5 separate regions of the Homo sapiens genome follow, and all the other regions are linked to region 5. The links are contacts of gene promoters, found by promoter capture Hi-C in blood cells and fetal thymus (Javierre and others, 2016). All regions are on one chromosome and are shown on one strand. Each heading gives the region's core, a stretch centred on a gene start or on the middle of the fragment in contact. The rest is flanking DNA. Distances are from core to core; before and after follow the strand shown. Region 1 overlaps SLF1 (SMC5/6 complex localization factor 1). Region 2 overlaps LOC105379087 (a long non-coding RNA gene). Region 3 overlaps CCNH (cyclin H). Region 4 overlaps RASA1 (RAS p21 protein activator 1). Region 5 holds the start of CETN3 (centrin 3).

What was found. The method cuts DNA at HindIII sites, captures the fragments that hold promoters and counts their contacts. A CHiCAGO score of 5 or more calls a contact.
Region 1: a fragment that was not itself captured here is called in contact with the fragment with the promoter of CETN3 in region 5 in 1 of 17 cell types (total CD4 T cells); the score reaches 6.1 in total CD4 T cells.
Region 2: a fragment that was not itself captured here is called in contact with the fragment with the promoter of CETN3 in region 5 in 1 of 17 cell types (non-activated CD4 T cells); the score reaches 8.9 in non-activated CD4 T cells.
Region 3: a contact is called between a fragment that was not itself captured here and the fragment with the promoter of CETN3 in region 5, in 7 of 17 cell types (non-activated CD4 T cells, naive B cells, naive CD8 T cells and 4 more). The highest score is 10.8, in non-activated CD4 T cells.
Region 4: a contact is called between a fragment that was not itself captured here and the fragment with the promoter of CETN3 in region 5, in 2 of 17 cell types (total B cells and total CD4 T cells). The highest score is 7.3, in total B cells.

Annotation. Positions count from the first base shown.
Region 1 is chr5:94,621,832-94,624,531 of GRCh38, reverse strand. The region is part of intron 1 of SLF1 (SMC5/6 complex localization factor 1); the gene reads right to left. Among named protein-coding and RNA genes, the nearest start is that of SLF1, 4.5 kb to the right of the region's middle. The HindIII fragment of the contact is 2,946 bases long and covers 1-2,700 here.
Region 2 is chr5:94,112,264-94,114,963 of GRCh38, reverse strand. It overlaps LOC105379087 (a long non-coding RNA gene), which reads right to left. Exons shown (of 7, transcript XR_001742441.2): 2 at 2,560-2,639; 3 at 1,299-1,409; 4 at 163-217. Among named protein-coding and RNA genes, the nearest start is that of ARB2A, 2.0 kb to the right of the region's middle. The HindIII fragment of the contact is 1,727 bases long and covers 416-2,142 here.
Region 3 is chr5:87,407,207-87,409,906 of GRCh38, reverse strand. CCNH (cyclin H) reads left to right here. Exons shown (of 9, transcript NM_001239.4): 3 at 544-617; 4 at 1,721-1,931. Among named protein-coding and RNA genes, the nearest start is that of CCNH, 4.4 kb to the left of the region's middle. The HindIII fragment of the contact is 6,127 bases long and covers 1-2,700 here.
Region 4 is chr5:87,369,281-87,371,980 of GRCh38, reverse strand. RASA1 (RAS p21 protein activator 1) reads right to left here. Exons shown (of 25, transcript NM_002890.3): 12 at 2,081-2,168. It also overlaps a transcript of CCNH not described here. Among named protein-coding and RNA genes, the nearest start is that of CCNH, 42 kb to the left of the region's middle. The HindIII fragment of the contact is 1,806 bases long and covers 396-2,201 here.
Region 5 is chr5:90,408,492-90,411,191 of GRCh38, reverse strand. It overlaps CETN3 (centrin 3), which reads left to right and starts at 1,436. Exons shown (of 5, transcript NM_004365.4): 1 at 1,436-1,547. The coding sequence starts at 1,531. LOC731157 (a long non-coding RNA gene) reads right to left here and starts at 1,192. Exons shown (of 2, transcript NR_105024.1): 1 at 888-1,192; 2 at 523-692. RefSeq lists an enhancer at 1,467-1,666. The HindIII fragment of the contact is 6,726 bases long and covers 1,346-2,700 here.

The DNA of each region.
Region 1 (2,700 bases), core at 103-2,602, 4.2 Mb before region 5:
AGGTAACATTTTAATGTATTTTGGTTTCATGTATAAATTATTAAATTATTTGGATTTACTGGAGTTAGTGTGTAAAGCAGTTTTCATCTTAAACCATATGGTCTTTATAATAAAATAAATATGATGGAAATGACCCACTTTGTATATTTAACAGCATTTTCTGTCAAAGCAAGAGCCCATAGTAAAATGAAAATAGGACTAACTGCATAATAGCAGAAATCAGGAAAGCCTTTTAAAGCAATTTATTTCCTTTGAAAATGATTAAATATGAAACTGAAGTTAAACATGCGGAGGAAAGGGAAGTAGGAAACAAAGGTGAAAAAACAGAATGTCCTGATTCAAACATTATCCATAAAATATGGATATGTTTAAAGACAAATCAGAATACAGGACATTCTAGTCACAAATTTATCAGAAAAACTGAGCTACTAGCTAAACTTTAACAGAATCAGGAATCCCAGTGACGGCCCAAAATAACTAGCACAGTTTTGTAACAGTTTTCTAGAATAAAATTATCTACTTGAAACAACAGTTTATAATACATTTAGCAATGCTTTTTTACAGCACATGATATGACAAGTGAATGACCTGTATTACAGGATCTAATTCATGCAGTTACACAGGAAAACTATATATGTAGGAATAGATATAAACATGTATAGATATACTGATTGATTTATTTATAAAATTCATGGTTTGATGGTTCTTTCTGACCCTGCAGGATTAAGAATACAATAAACCTGATATGTTAATGAGGCCAAAAAGAGCACTATAATTGGTTTAACATATATCAATAACCCAGACAATTAAAAATCCTTTAAAGTACAGTCAAGTTTAGTGTAAGTGATATGTCTGAGGTAGGGAGGATCAAGAGCTAACTTCTAGAAGTCTTGCAGCACAAGAAGGAAAGTAAATATACCATAATATAATTGTACCAGTGGTTATTTTTAGAAAAATTATAGATCTTTCTAGAACTAATAGGGGGTGTTCCTTGGAGCATTCATACAGAAGATACTATCTTAACACCAAAAAAAAGGAGGGAAAAAAAAAGCAAAAAAGAGAGCATGACTTCTGACAGTTAAGTTTTATTTTTACTGTCAAAAAAATTAAAATTATATGACATTCTTGGTTATGAGAAAATGTCCTTTTGTAGTAATTATTAAAATCTTATCTATAATTAACAAAAATTAGTTACTTACCTTGAACAATAAAATACAACTAAGGAGACAATGACTATAAACAGAGTTGGCCTTTATGCATAGCAAGCAACTGTCTCTGTGGTATGGAGTTTCCCAAAATATCTCCCACATGGGCCTATTCTTGATGCCTGAAATTCCTTTGTAGTTGGTGCCAGTCCAAAATGCAAAGAAAACTTATAGAACTCTTCATCTTAATTAAGAACACTATTTATTATAAACTAGCTTTTTAGGTTCTTTGAATTCTTTATAATGTAACACATAGCTAGAACATGTTTGAAGAACATGTTGAAAATTGAGCTCAGAGACAAGGAAAGACAGGAATACAGATATGAATACAAAAGTCTGGTTTGAGAGGCAAGATGAAAGAGCAGGGTACAACCCTTGGGAAAAAGCGGAAGGTGCTACAAAAATGAGAGACAGGGATGCATAAATGGGGTTTTGTAAGGAAAATAAGGATAAACTTTTCCCTACTCTACATTATATAGGGCTGGTTTCTTTTATAACCAGCCCTACCCATAAAAGAGAAGTAATCTTAGAAATAAATTGTATGGTATCATTAGCTAAAATAAATATTTAAGACTTAATAAAAAAACTTTGATTTATATATTTATATTTAAGAACTAAAGTTTTCCCCCCAAAATAACCTTTACAGACTTGTCTTTCAATTTTAACATGCACTTATTATAGAAAATTTGAAAAATATTACAAAGTATATAGAAAGATTAAAATCATCTCTAATCCCTTCAGCCTGTAATACCATTGTTAACACTGGGGAGGGATGTTGACTTTTAGGTTTTATCTGAGTGTAAAAAATATATATAACAAAATTTGGATATTACATTGTTTCATATCTTCATTTTTATGTAATGTTATATTGTGATCATTTTTCCATGCCACTTAATACTCTTCATGGTTTTAAGGTCATGATGAAAACTAGTGGTTTCTCAGTGTTTGTTATTTTGGTGAATTCTTTTGATTTTAAACCTACTTTTACAGCAAACTAAGGAAAATTATTTGAAACTCCCCTCATCTGAAAAGCATATACCAAGCACTGAATGCAGTCAAGATTTCTGCTCTGAATTAAACAGTCTGAAAAATTTTCATTTCTCTTATTCAAAACATTTAACTGGGAAAGTAAACAAATAACTGTTAAAACTGAAAAGGGTCCAAGTGTTGGATCTCTGTTTGAACCAATATTGCAAAAGGTAGACACATGTCACAGTACTTATACTGTGTGTATAAAATACTGTTTGACGTTTAACTACAAGTGGCGTTTAGAAATTCTGGCCCCTTTAGGCCTAGGAGCCAAATTAGGCCCTTGGTTTAATATCATTCAGCTGGCCTTCAGACTTTTTTTTTTAAAGACACAGTGTCTATTTCCTGCCCCATCCTTCAAAGATAGGAGAGATGCACACGCACGTGTGTATGTGTGTGTGTGTGTGTGTGTGTATAAATATTAATTATTTGACAGAAGCATCCAGTGATGAGACTTGAGGGCTGT
Region 2 (2,700 bases), core at 30-2,529, 3.7 Mb before region 5:
ATGATCCTACTTTTTGGGCTTTAAATATAAACTGAATCTAGAAGGCAGAACTTGTTGTAATTACTATCCACACTTCACACATACTGTCTTAGTCCATTTTCTGCTGCTGTAAGAATACCACACACTGGGTAATTTATAAACAAAGAGATTCATTTGGCTTACAGTTCTGGAGGCTGGGGAAGTCCAAGATCCAGAGGCTGCATCTTGTGAAGGTCATCTTGTGGCAGAAAGCATCACAGGGGGAGAGAGGGTGAGACAGAGTAGTGAGAGTGCACAAGACAGAGAGAAAATGGGGACCAAATTTATCCTTTTATCAGGAGCTCACTCCCATGATAACTAACCCACTCCCACAATAATGGCATTCATCCTTTTATGAGGGCACAGTCCCTATCACCTAAATCACCTCTTTAAAGCTTCACTTCTTAATATTATTACAATGGCAATTATGTTTCCAATGCATGAATTTTTAGAGAACACATTCAAACCACAGCACATTCCTGCTTGGGCTTGAGCAAGGGCAGGAATGTTACTTGATTCTCCAAATTTAAGTCAGAATCCAGACCTCATTCTAATACAGTTGGTTAGTTTGGACAGAGCTTTGCCCTTAGCATCTAATTAAGAATATTTTCCTTAATGGATTTTCTTGAGCTGCCAAAATGTTGGCACTGAGTCCTAGTCATGATAAGTAGGTTTAAATTTTATTTTTAACTTAAATGAACAACATGTAGCCTTGTTAGTATTTTTGGAGGTGTCTGTCTGCTGTATGTCACTGAAATCATTTAATGTGAAGGGTGGGAGTAGATTGATAAAAAGATAGATGCCCAAGGAAGTGGTCTGGAATAGGAGGAGGATACGCAAAATATGGTATAGGGACATTTCTTTGATCATCCTAGTGATCAAAGATGGACCAGCTGTTAGCCAGGAGGGAACAAATCTCCTTTCCTTTTTCCTTATCTTAGTAGGATTTTGAAGTGCAAGAGAAGAGAGGTGGGGAGAGAAACTGAAGTTTCTGGCTTCCCTAGAGATGTATAAATTAAAATTATAAACTAACTTGTACAGTTTAGATGACTATGGTTAAAATGAGGGGACATTTTTGTACTATATTGTGTAGTCATCATTGTAATGGTTTCTGCTAAGCTACACATGGGCTGTTGTAATTCTAACAAAACATCTAAGCCCACATACAATTTTTGTTGCTTTCCCTCCTTTCTCCTCACAGATTTGCAGAAGATATTTTTGTGGTCAGCTGAGGCAGGAGTTTACCATTTAGGGTAGAGTAAGGAGAGAAAAGGACTCACTCTGTTTCAGCACATAACCTCTTCATTCTTGATTTTGACATCTTAGGCAGGATTGGACTTGAAAGGATATTTACTCTTTGGCTGTTGTCATACAGCTATTAGTTTCTTTTGCTGAAAAACAAATCACTCCAAAATTTACTGGCTTAAAGTAACAAGAATCATTTTCATTATCTCTAATTGTTTCTGTGGGTCAGGAATTCAGAACTGGGCACAGTGGGGATGGCTCGTCTCTGCTTTATGAAATTTTGGACCCCAGCTGACTCAATGACAGGAACAATCTGAAGGCTCATTCATTCCCATGTAAGTCCAGCTGGAATTGCAGGCTGAAGCACCCATATGTTTGTTCAATAGTTTACTACTGAACAAAGTACATTCCCCTAACCCTTGAGTGGGCCTCTATCCTGGAAATATTGAAAGGTCATGTCACTCATCTTTTGACCAATCTCCATATTTTATGTAAACATTGGTATATTCTCTTAATGGAATGTTACTTTTTTATTCAATTTTCACTAGTTTTCTCACTTACGTTCTATTTCTATTTCAGGATCCAACATTAAAGTTGGTCTCTTTAGGCTCCTCTTGGCTCAGACAGTTTCTCAGACTTTCCTTGTTTTTCATGACTTTAACTGTTTGGAGTAGTACTGGTCAGGTATTTTGTCTGATGTTTTTCTCATGGTTAAACTGGGATTATACATTTTTGGGAGCCTTATCTTTTTAATATAATCTGTCACTGTTGCAAAAGTCCACCAAAATAAAAATGTTTCCCTCCTCTGTTCAACAATCCTTCAGCTTCCCCAATTGTCTGCAGCAGAAAATCAAATTACTCAGCATGACATAGAAAGCTTTTCAGAATCTGGCTGTTGCCTTCCTCTTCAGTATAAAGTGTCACTCTACAAACCATTTGAGTTCTTTCCGGAAATGAAGCCCTAACAGTCTTGCAATGCCCGAGATTCATTCAGGTACTCAGTTCTGGCTAACTCCAGTGGATTCTCTCACCTTTTACTGCTCCTTATCTCCCGCCACTTACTTACACCACTTTCTTCTTGTCCTATACACTTTTCTAGATTTCCCCAATCTATTATTTACCACTGTGATCATTCAGTCATTCAATAAGTATTTATTGTCTACTTTGTGGACAGGCACTGTTGTATGGTTGAGGATACATTAAAAAGACAAGATTATGTCACTACCATCAGTGAGTTTACATTTTAGGGGGCAGGGTACATTTGCAAAGTACAAACAGTGTGGAAGTGAAGTATACCTTAGAGAGTCTGAGATCTCCTCTCTGAAGAACATAACTGTTGGTTTACTTGTCAGCCACCAGACTTTCCTTCTCTTTAGCTGCCTCAGAGGAGAGGGTATCTAACTCAGCTTTGTTACCCCAGCGTCTAGTTTAGCCTAA
Region 3 (2,700 bases), core at 31-2,530, 3.0 Mb after region 5:
ACATGGTATACATTCAATAAATGGTAGTGCTGCTTCTGCCATTCAGTTGGCAGCAGTGATCACAAATCATGGAATGGATACATGGTTATATCACAAATATGGAGTGGCTTTAGAGAGAAGGCTTATTGCCTTGCCCATGTTTTTTTGTCAGTATTTTTATAAGATTGGTTAATCTGTGAACGTTTGTATTTTTCTTCCTGAATTTATCTAATTCAGAACATTTTTGATAGTCTGATTTCTAATACACACACACACACACACACACACACACACACACGTATTTTTAAATCCAGTGACCATAGGAAGGATTAGCCAGAGTAGGCTGGGGATAGACAAGCAAAGGATGGGAAAGAATCTTTTGGCTATGGCATTTCTGTAGTAATTCATCACAATTTGTTTTGATTAAAGAAGAATTAATGAGTATTAGTATTTTTCTGGGTAATCTCTACAAAGAAACCTTTCCATAAATAAGTTCTGTTTCACAAAATTTAACATTTAACATTTGTGACTAGATCCTGATGATATATTTTTTTTAACCCTTAGGGTACGGCTTGTATGTATTTCAAACGTTTTTATCTTAATAACTCAGTAATGGAATATCACCCCAGGATAATAATGTGAGTATGTCTGTCTAATATATTGTTTTCATTTAAGAAGACCTTTATAATCTTTTGAGTATTTTTTGGGAGGAGAGAATTGTGAGAGAGAGAGAGAGAGAACTGACTTCCTAATACAGGGTAATTTAGACTTGAATTCTATTTTTTTTTTTTTATTCAGAACTTGAGATCTCTGTTTACCTGTACTTCAGTAATTCTGATGGTATGTGAACTTCAGCTTGTCCAGATTCAAATTTTGTTTTTCTCAAATTAGCTACTTCTCTAACATCTCTTCCTATTAGACACCTTTGTTCTTCCAGTTGTTCAGACTGAGAATCATTTATAGTGGCCCCTCCCACATCCAGTCAGTTTACGGATCCTATAGCTTCATACTCATTTCAGTTGAACAAAGGTCTGTTGTTGCTGCTCTCTGCTGAGCGCTGTGTCTATCATTAAAAATGAAATTAGTATGAAACTCATCAAAGAGTTTGCTCTCAATGACATTGTACCTGTTTTCTCTTTTTTGATTCCCATTTCCACCAGTCAAGATTAGGCCCTTGATCTCACTGCCAACTGTTTTTTACAGTAGCTTTCTTACTGTTTTCTCATACTGAACAGCATGAAGTGGCCAGGTGAATTTCACAAGTTTGTCCCTTAAATAATAGTCCCTTATTCAGATGCCCTTAGAGACTTCTGCCGATGGCCTTCCACAATGTTCCTTTAACCTACTTTTCTTCCCATACTTACATGGTACATATGTGGGTACTGCTTTATTTTTAACTCTTCCATCTACATTATACAAAGTACTCTTATTCCTCAGTTAATTTGTTTTTCCAGATATTTAGGTTGTACTGCATAACACTGTCATTGAGTCAGTGATGTTTGAATGCCATGGCAATATTGGTTTGACCTAATTTTATAGTTGTCTTACGTCTCCTAATGAAGTGTGAACAGGAAGTGTCTTTTAAAAAACAATTCTTGCAATGTCTAGCAGTCGCTTTTGAATATTAGGCAATTATAGAATATACTTTTAGAAATAAATTATTTAGATACTTCTCAAAGTATATGCATGTTCTTCCACCCCACCCACCCCCTGCCTCCTGCCTCCTTATTTTTTCCTCTAGGCTCACTTGTGCATTTTTGGCCTGCAAAGTAGATGAATTCAATGTATCTAGTCCTCAGTTTGTTGGAAACCTCCGGGAGAGTCCTCTTGGACAGGAGAAGGCACTTGAACAGATACTGGAATATGAACTACTTCTTATACAGCAACTTAATTTCCACCTTATTGTCCACAATCCTTACAGACCATTTGAGGGCTTCCTCATCGACTTAAAGGTAAACTTGATGTAAAATAAACTAATACTACATTCTCCTTTCCTATTCTTTAACAAAAGAATCCAAAATTTTAAAACTCATAATCATCCTCGTTGTTATAGCATGGATACAACCTGTGGGTCTGGCCTGGTCATCTAGGGCAGTTGTTTTCAAACTTCAGTGGGCATCATCAGTCATCTGGAGAAATTGTTAACTGAGATTGTTGGGTGGGACTTACAGAGTTTCTGATTTAAGTGATCTGCAATCTCATTTAAGTGATCTTCATTACATCCAGGGATGTAATGAAGACCATTGAGAGTTTAGAACGGTGCTTACTATAAAGGCTTAAGATAACTCTTCTAACTTTGAATTATATTGTCATGGATCTGGGCCTGATTTAAACCATAAAAAATTCTTAAACTAGAAGATTGCTAAGTGACTTATATTTTTAGAGGTTTGTGAACTTAAGTCACTATGTAGGCATCAATAATATACGTAAACAAACATTGACAAAAGCAACTTTTTTAAGTTGTTTTGTTTGGCTCTAAAAGAGAAGTTGGATAGTCTGAGTCGAATCAAATCAGGAATTGGTTCATTCATGTTAGATCAGTGGCTCAATTTGGGTACCTTCTATGTGCCAAACTTTGTGCTTGAGGATGTAACCAGAAATAGGACAGGAACAGTCTCAACTTTTGTGAACCTTACAATCTAAAGGTTTTAGACAATCATATATCCAGTGTGCTCAATGATACAGAGGGGAAAATATATTTTAGAGGGAGATAACAGATTA
Region 4 (2,700 bases), core at 49-2,548, 3.0 Mb after region 5:
CTTCATAACAATAACCAATAATAAAATAACAATAACATAACAATAACAATAATAAAACAACCAAAACAATTGTAATTCTGTATAAATCTTTGTTTGAATTTATGTATGAAACACATCGAGTGGCCATTAATTAGCCAAAAAATCAAATTTACATTAAAGAAACTATTTCTCCCAAACAGATACTACCTTGGGGAAATTAACTGTATAATTAAGCTGTTATACTTGAGGCAAGCTTAGGTGGAATTTAACTTGATACACTTTGTGAGAGGGGGAGAGTGCTGATTGTAAAACCAACTGATAATGTGATGACCGATCCCATGACAAGCATATTAATCTATACTTTAGACCATGATACAGGTAGAAATGTATAAGGGGATTTGGGTTATTTTTAAGCTTCTCAAATATAACATTAGATTTTAAAAATCATTTTAGCCTAATATTCAAATCAAATTGCAGCCATATTTTTAAAATGTTTATCTAGTGCTTTGGGGAAAAGGAGAGAACTAAGGTTTATTAAAAACAAATCTAAATATTCACTTTGGTTTTTACATATTTCTGGAAAGCTGTGTACTATTGCTTTATTCAATTATGTCTTTAGTTTGTTGGCTATTTCAATGAAGCTGAACTTTATTAATATCTAGAGACTGTCTTTATATTACAGCAAATTAAAACCAAATCAGTTACCATAGCTTTTTGAAATAGAAGAGAATAACCAGAGACCCCCACAGCCCAATAAATCAACAAAAACTGGAAATACCATTTATGGAAATACAGAAATATTATGTATAAATACATTAAAAAATGTTCTATGTTAGGCTTGCAAAACATGCTGAAATGTCATTATGGTATGTGACATTTTATTCAGAAAGAGGGACCATGGTAAAATACTTAGAAAATAGGATACTGAAGTTTAAATTTCTAACTCAATTTCTAACATTTAAAAAAATCATGTAAGTTACCAAAATGTTTTGAGCACTACCTTTCTCATCTAAAAATTAGGGATACATAGCCGTAAAATTTTATGTGCATTACATGTGAAATGAGCATTAAATGAGATATTTGATAAAGATGTGAAATATGACGTTCAGTTGTAAGCTCATTCAGGTTTATTCTGTGAGTCTCACGCTAGGATCTAGTTTTAAGAGCATCTTCCTCATATCTAGGGTTGGCAAATTATATTTCCAACAAAGCCACTTTCACTTCTTAACCACCTTTAAGTTCCTTCGTTAGAATATAAGCAGAAATTTAGCTGTATTTGTATAAAATACAACCATATACTCCAGAAATATTAGGGTTCAAAGAAAGCAAAAAAATTTTTTAAGAGACAGTGTCTCAGTTTGTTGCCTAGGCTGGCTTACAGTGTCTCGATCTTACTCACTGTAACTCAAACTCCTGTGCTAATGCAATCTTCCTGCCTCATTCTACCCAGTGGCTGGGACTACAGGCATAAGCCAGAACACCTAGCTAATTTTTTACTTTTGTTATAGAGGTGGGTTCTCCCTTTGTTGCAAAATATTTTTTAAAGAGTGTTTTTTAAAAAATATTATTTCTTCACACAATTACTTAATAGACGCTATAAGAAGGACACTGCACATGGATTAATAGCTAATCTAAAGTAGACATTATATCTCGACTTGGCTTAGAGAATAGATTCCTAAAATATCTTTCCTTGTGTTGACTGACTTTTATTTTCAGACATGGAGTTCAACCAGTGAAGAATAATGCTTGTTAGCAAAACTAACTGGTTAACTGGCTTACCTTTGGATTATACTGAGATGACCTATAACCTTTATGCAGAGAGGATTTTAAATGAGCATTCTCAGTTGGCCTCAACATCATAGAGTATTTAAAGGTCAATTTAAAATGGAGTTTTCATTCCTAATAACCCTTCACTGTGTTTGTTTTTGCATTTCTTTCAGAAAACTTTTTACATATGAAATCTCATTCCTTAAAATAAGAGATGATTAGATTTCAGGCGTTCTGTCACTTTATCTTGAATGCGATCATTTTCTATTCCAGTTAATAAGAAAACATGGGCTAACATAAAAGTATACTGTAGTTTGAGAAACAGTAATCTTACCTCTGCTTGTTCTGGAGTTTCTCCTGCAAAGTAAAAGATGTAATGTTCTTCACTAAAGTGCTGAACTACTATCTGAAAACAGTTTGGCCTTTAAAATAAAAACAAAAATTATTAGGAAGCTTAATAAAAAGTAGCAAAATATTTATACCAGCTTCCAAAACACTCACAATAAATAATTAACATAAAATTATAATTCTTAAAGAAATAATACTCCATTGTACCAGATCATTACTAAAAAAAAGTCAGCTATATATATTTTAGAAAACTTTATGTCAGCACTATTAAAATGTTATCAGTATTTCAAAGTGTAAACTAAAGAAATTTCAATTAATTGTAAAATACATTAGAAATAAAGTTACAAACAGATTGAAGCTGAACTGCTAGAACTGCACACAGCTAATTTGAAAAGCTTTATATGCACTGGAAAAAGACTAGAAATGTTCTTAGACCAAAAATGTTCTAAGTAATTATCTCTAAGGAGATTGTAGGTGATTCTGTATTTTCAAATTTTTCTAAACTGATCATTTTTCTTCACCTGTTAAAATGGAAACATCATCTCTTCATACATATGCTTGTTCTAGAGTTTAAGTGAACAGTTGTGTACAACAAATGTTCTTGTC
Region 5 (2,700 bases), core at 187-2,686:
TCGTTTCTAACATCTTCAAATAAATGCTTGGCCTATTTTTATTCTTTCTTATTTAAAATAATGTTCTCCTATAACTTGGTCTGTATCTTAAAATTTTAACATATAGTTTTTTTCAATATCATTATGTTCTAGTAACTACAATTTCTCTTTCCTTTTAGACTCAAAGGTGATTTATAAAGGTACTTTAAAATTTAAAATACGAACAAAATAAAAGTTCCACTTTTGTTTTTTAGGGGTGCTATCCCTTAGCTAATTTTTAGCTTATTCTATCATACTATCTTTCCTTGTGCAAATTTAGCCCATCCTTCTAGGTCTAACGTTTATGTCACCTCCTTTAAGAAGCATATCTTGTGTTCTCTCCCTTCTCTAAAATTTTATATACATCCCTTAAACATATAATGTTTATATATTCTCCGCCTTCAACTCCCATCCTCAGGCTATTTTATTCACGTTTATGAGATTTGCTGTTTAGCTCAGTATTTTGTGGATTTTCAAAAGATTCCACTCAATTTACCGAGCACCTACGCACCAGACATTTTATTAGGTACAAGGAAAAGCGTTAAATAGATATAATCACGGCCTCCAAGAAATTGAACCTAGTAAGAGACACGAATAAGCAGACATTCAAGTGAGCTTTAGGAGACTTGGTTTGGTAGTGAAGACAGTCTCATGTGTGTTAACAGCTTACAGCACTGAAAAATAAGAGACAGAAGGGAACAAATCCGTTTCAAACAGTTCAAAGGAGGAAAGAGAGGGAAAGGTGGTTTAGATACAGCTAAATCATAAATAGCCTGATAATCTAACCCTGTGATAATCCAAGTACAGCCACAGCACCTGCCTCAGAATCACTTGGAAGGCTTGTGAGGAGTAAAAACGCAGATTCATACCTACTGAAATTAGAATGGAGAAACGGACATTTAAGTCTGCATTTTAAACACATTCCCCAGGTACTGAGGCCATTCCAAGTTTTAGAACAGAGCACAGCCAATTTTCGCAGACCTTGTTCCTCAAGTACTCCCTCCTTCTAGCCGGAGGGTGGCCTGCAGCATGTCCCTTCCCTTCCCACCGCCGAAGCTGTCCATCCAGTTTCTGAATGGCGGCCCACAGACCGCACGGCTTTACGAGAGAGGAACACAGCGCCCACCCGCCAAACAGCCACACAGGGATCGGAGGCCGGACCCGCAAAGGATTCGGGGAAAAACGCATCGAGCCAATCCGAAGGGCGAGAGCGGCCCTAGATTGGGGGGGCGGGGGGGCGTTAGGAGGTGGGCGGGGCACAGAAAAAAAATTTTTTTTTCCTTGATTGACGTAAAACCTACCCAATGAAAATAGAACTGGTAAAGCTTCCGCCCCCTAATAGGCAGAACCATAGCGACATTTCAACCAATCCAGCTCAAAAGTGTCTATGTTGTGGGAGGTCCCTGAGGCCGCTGAGGTCGTTCGTGTCTGTTGAACGGCTGTGGGCGTCTTGCTGCCTTGGGTAGGGGGTTAAAATCGTTCTTGAGAGGAACGTCTCTGTGCGAAGAGATAATGAGTTTAGCTCTGAGGTCGGTAATAAGGAGGCGGCAGTGCTCTCCACACCCCGGAGCGGGGCCCAGGGAGGGTGTGTGTGGAAGGGAGGACGTTTGGGGCCGAGGCGAGGCAGGGGATGTAGTTTGGGACGCGGGAAAGGAGCCTAGGGCAGCCTGCCCGGATCACTCACCCTCTGGGCTCTGATGCCCTGCAGGGAACGAGACCAGTGCATTTCTGCTAAGGAGGTTATTTCTGTCAGCGCGTAGGGCTTTGGACTGCCAGAAGGTTGGGCTTAGTTGCGAGCGAGGTGGGAATGAAATATCGCGAGGCTTCTACTCTTGTTTCTCAGATCAGGTCGCGGACATCCCTTCATTCATCCGTGTGCCTGGTCAGGGCCCCACCTCGGCTGCTCCGCTGCTAATGCAATCACCCACCTATAAATTTTGGAAATAACAAAAACTCTTTCCTCTTCTCCCAGGGCCCTGCTTTACGGTGTAATTGGAGACCCATTTTAGTGACTTTAATTGGCAGTCTGTCTCTTGGATTTCCTAAATTTCTTGCATTTTTTTACCTTTCAGTTCTAACCTCTAACCCTCTGTTGCCCTCTCCCACTATGTAGACGTTGTACCGTAAAACTATCCATACACTTACGACACTCCGAAAATATTCCATGTTCTGCTAAGGGATAATCATGGTACCCTTGGATGGGGTCAGGGGTGGGTCGGTTCTGGACTTGGCCTCCAAAAGTCTCAGGAAGGAAAAGACTGACCCCAGGAATACCCAAGTTTGTGTCAAGTCAGGTCTCATGAAAGGAAGATCTTCCTCAGCTTTGTTATACTGCACCTACTAGTCACTTCCTAGCTTTTTTTTTTTTTTTTTGGAGCTTTCAGAGACCAAAACGACTTTCAAATGCAACTAGATAGGTGTTTTAAGTACAGTCAACTGGTTTGACATGTTAATGTGTTACCGGATTGTGTTTCAAAACTCGTTATTCCAGTGTTGCGGCTCCATTTGAAAATTTGGAGCACATTTAGATGGGCAGCTCTTAAGGAAAACATTTCTGGCTTTAAAATAATTTTTGCTTTTTTTCTTTAAGCGTTTCCAGAGTTTATGAGAAGTTAACCTCCGGTTTACATGTTAAATGAGACAAGACTCATCACATTTTTATATAGAATGAAGCACAAACAT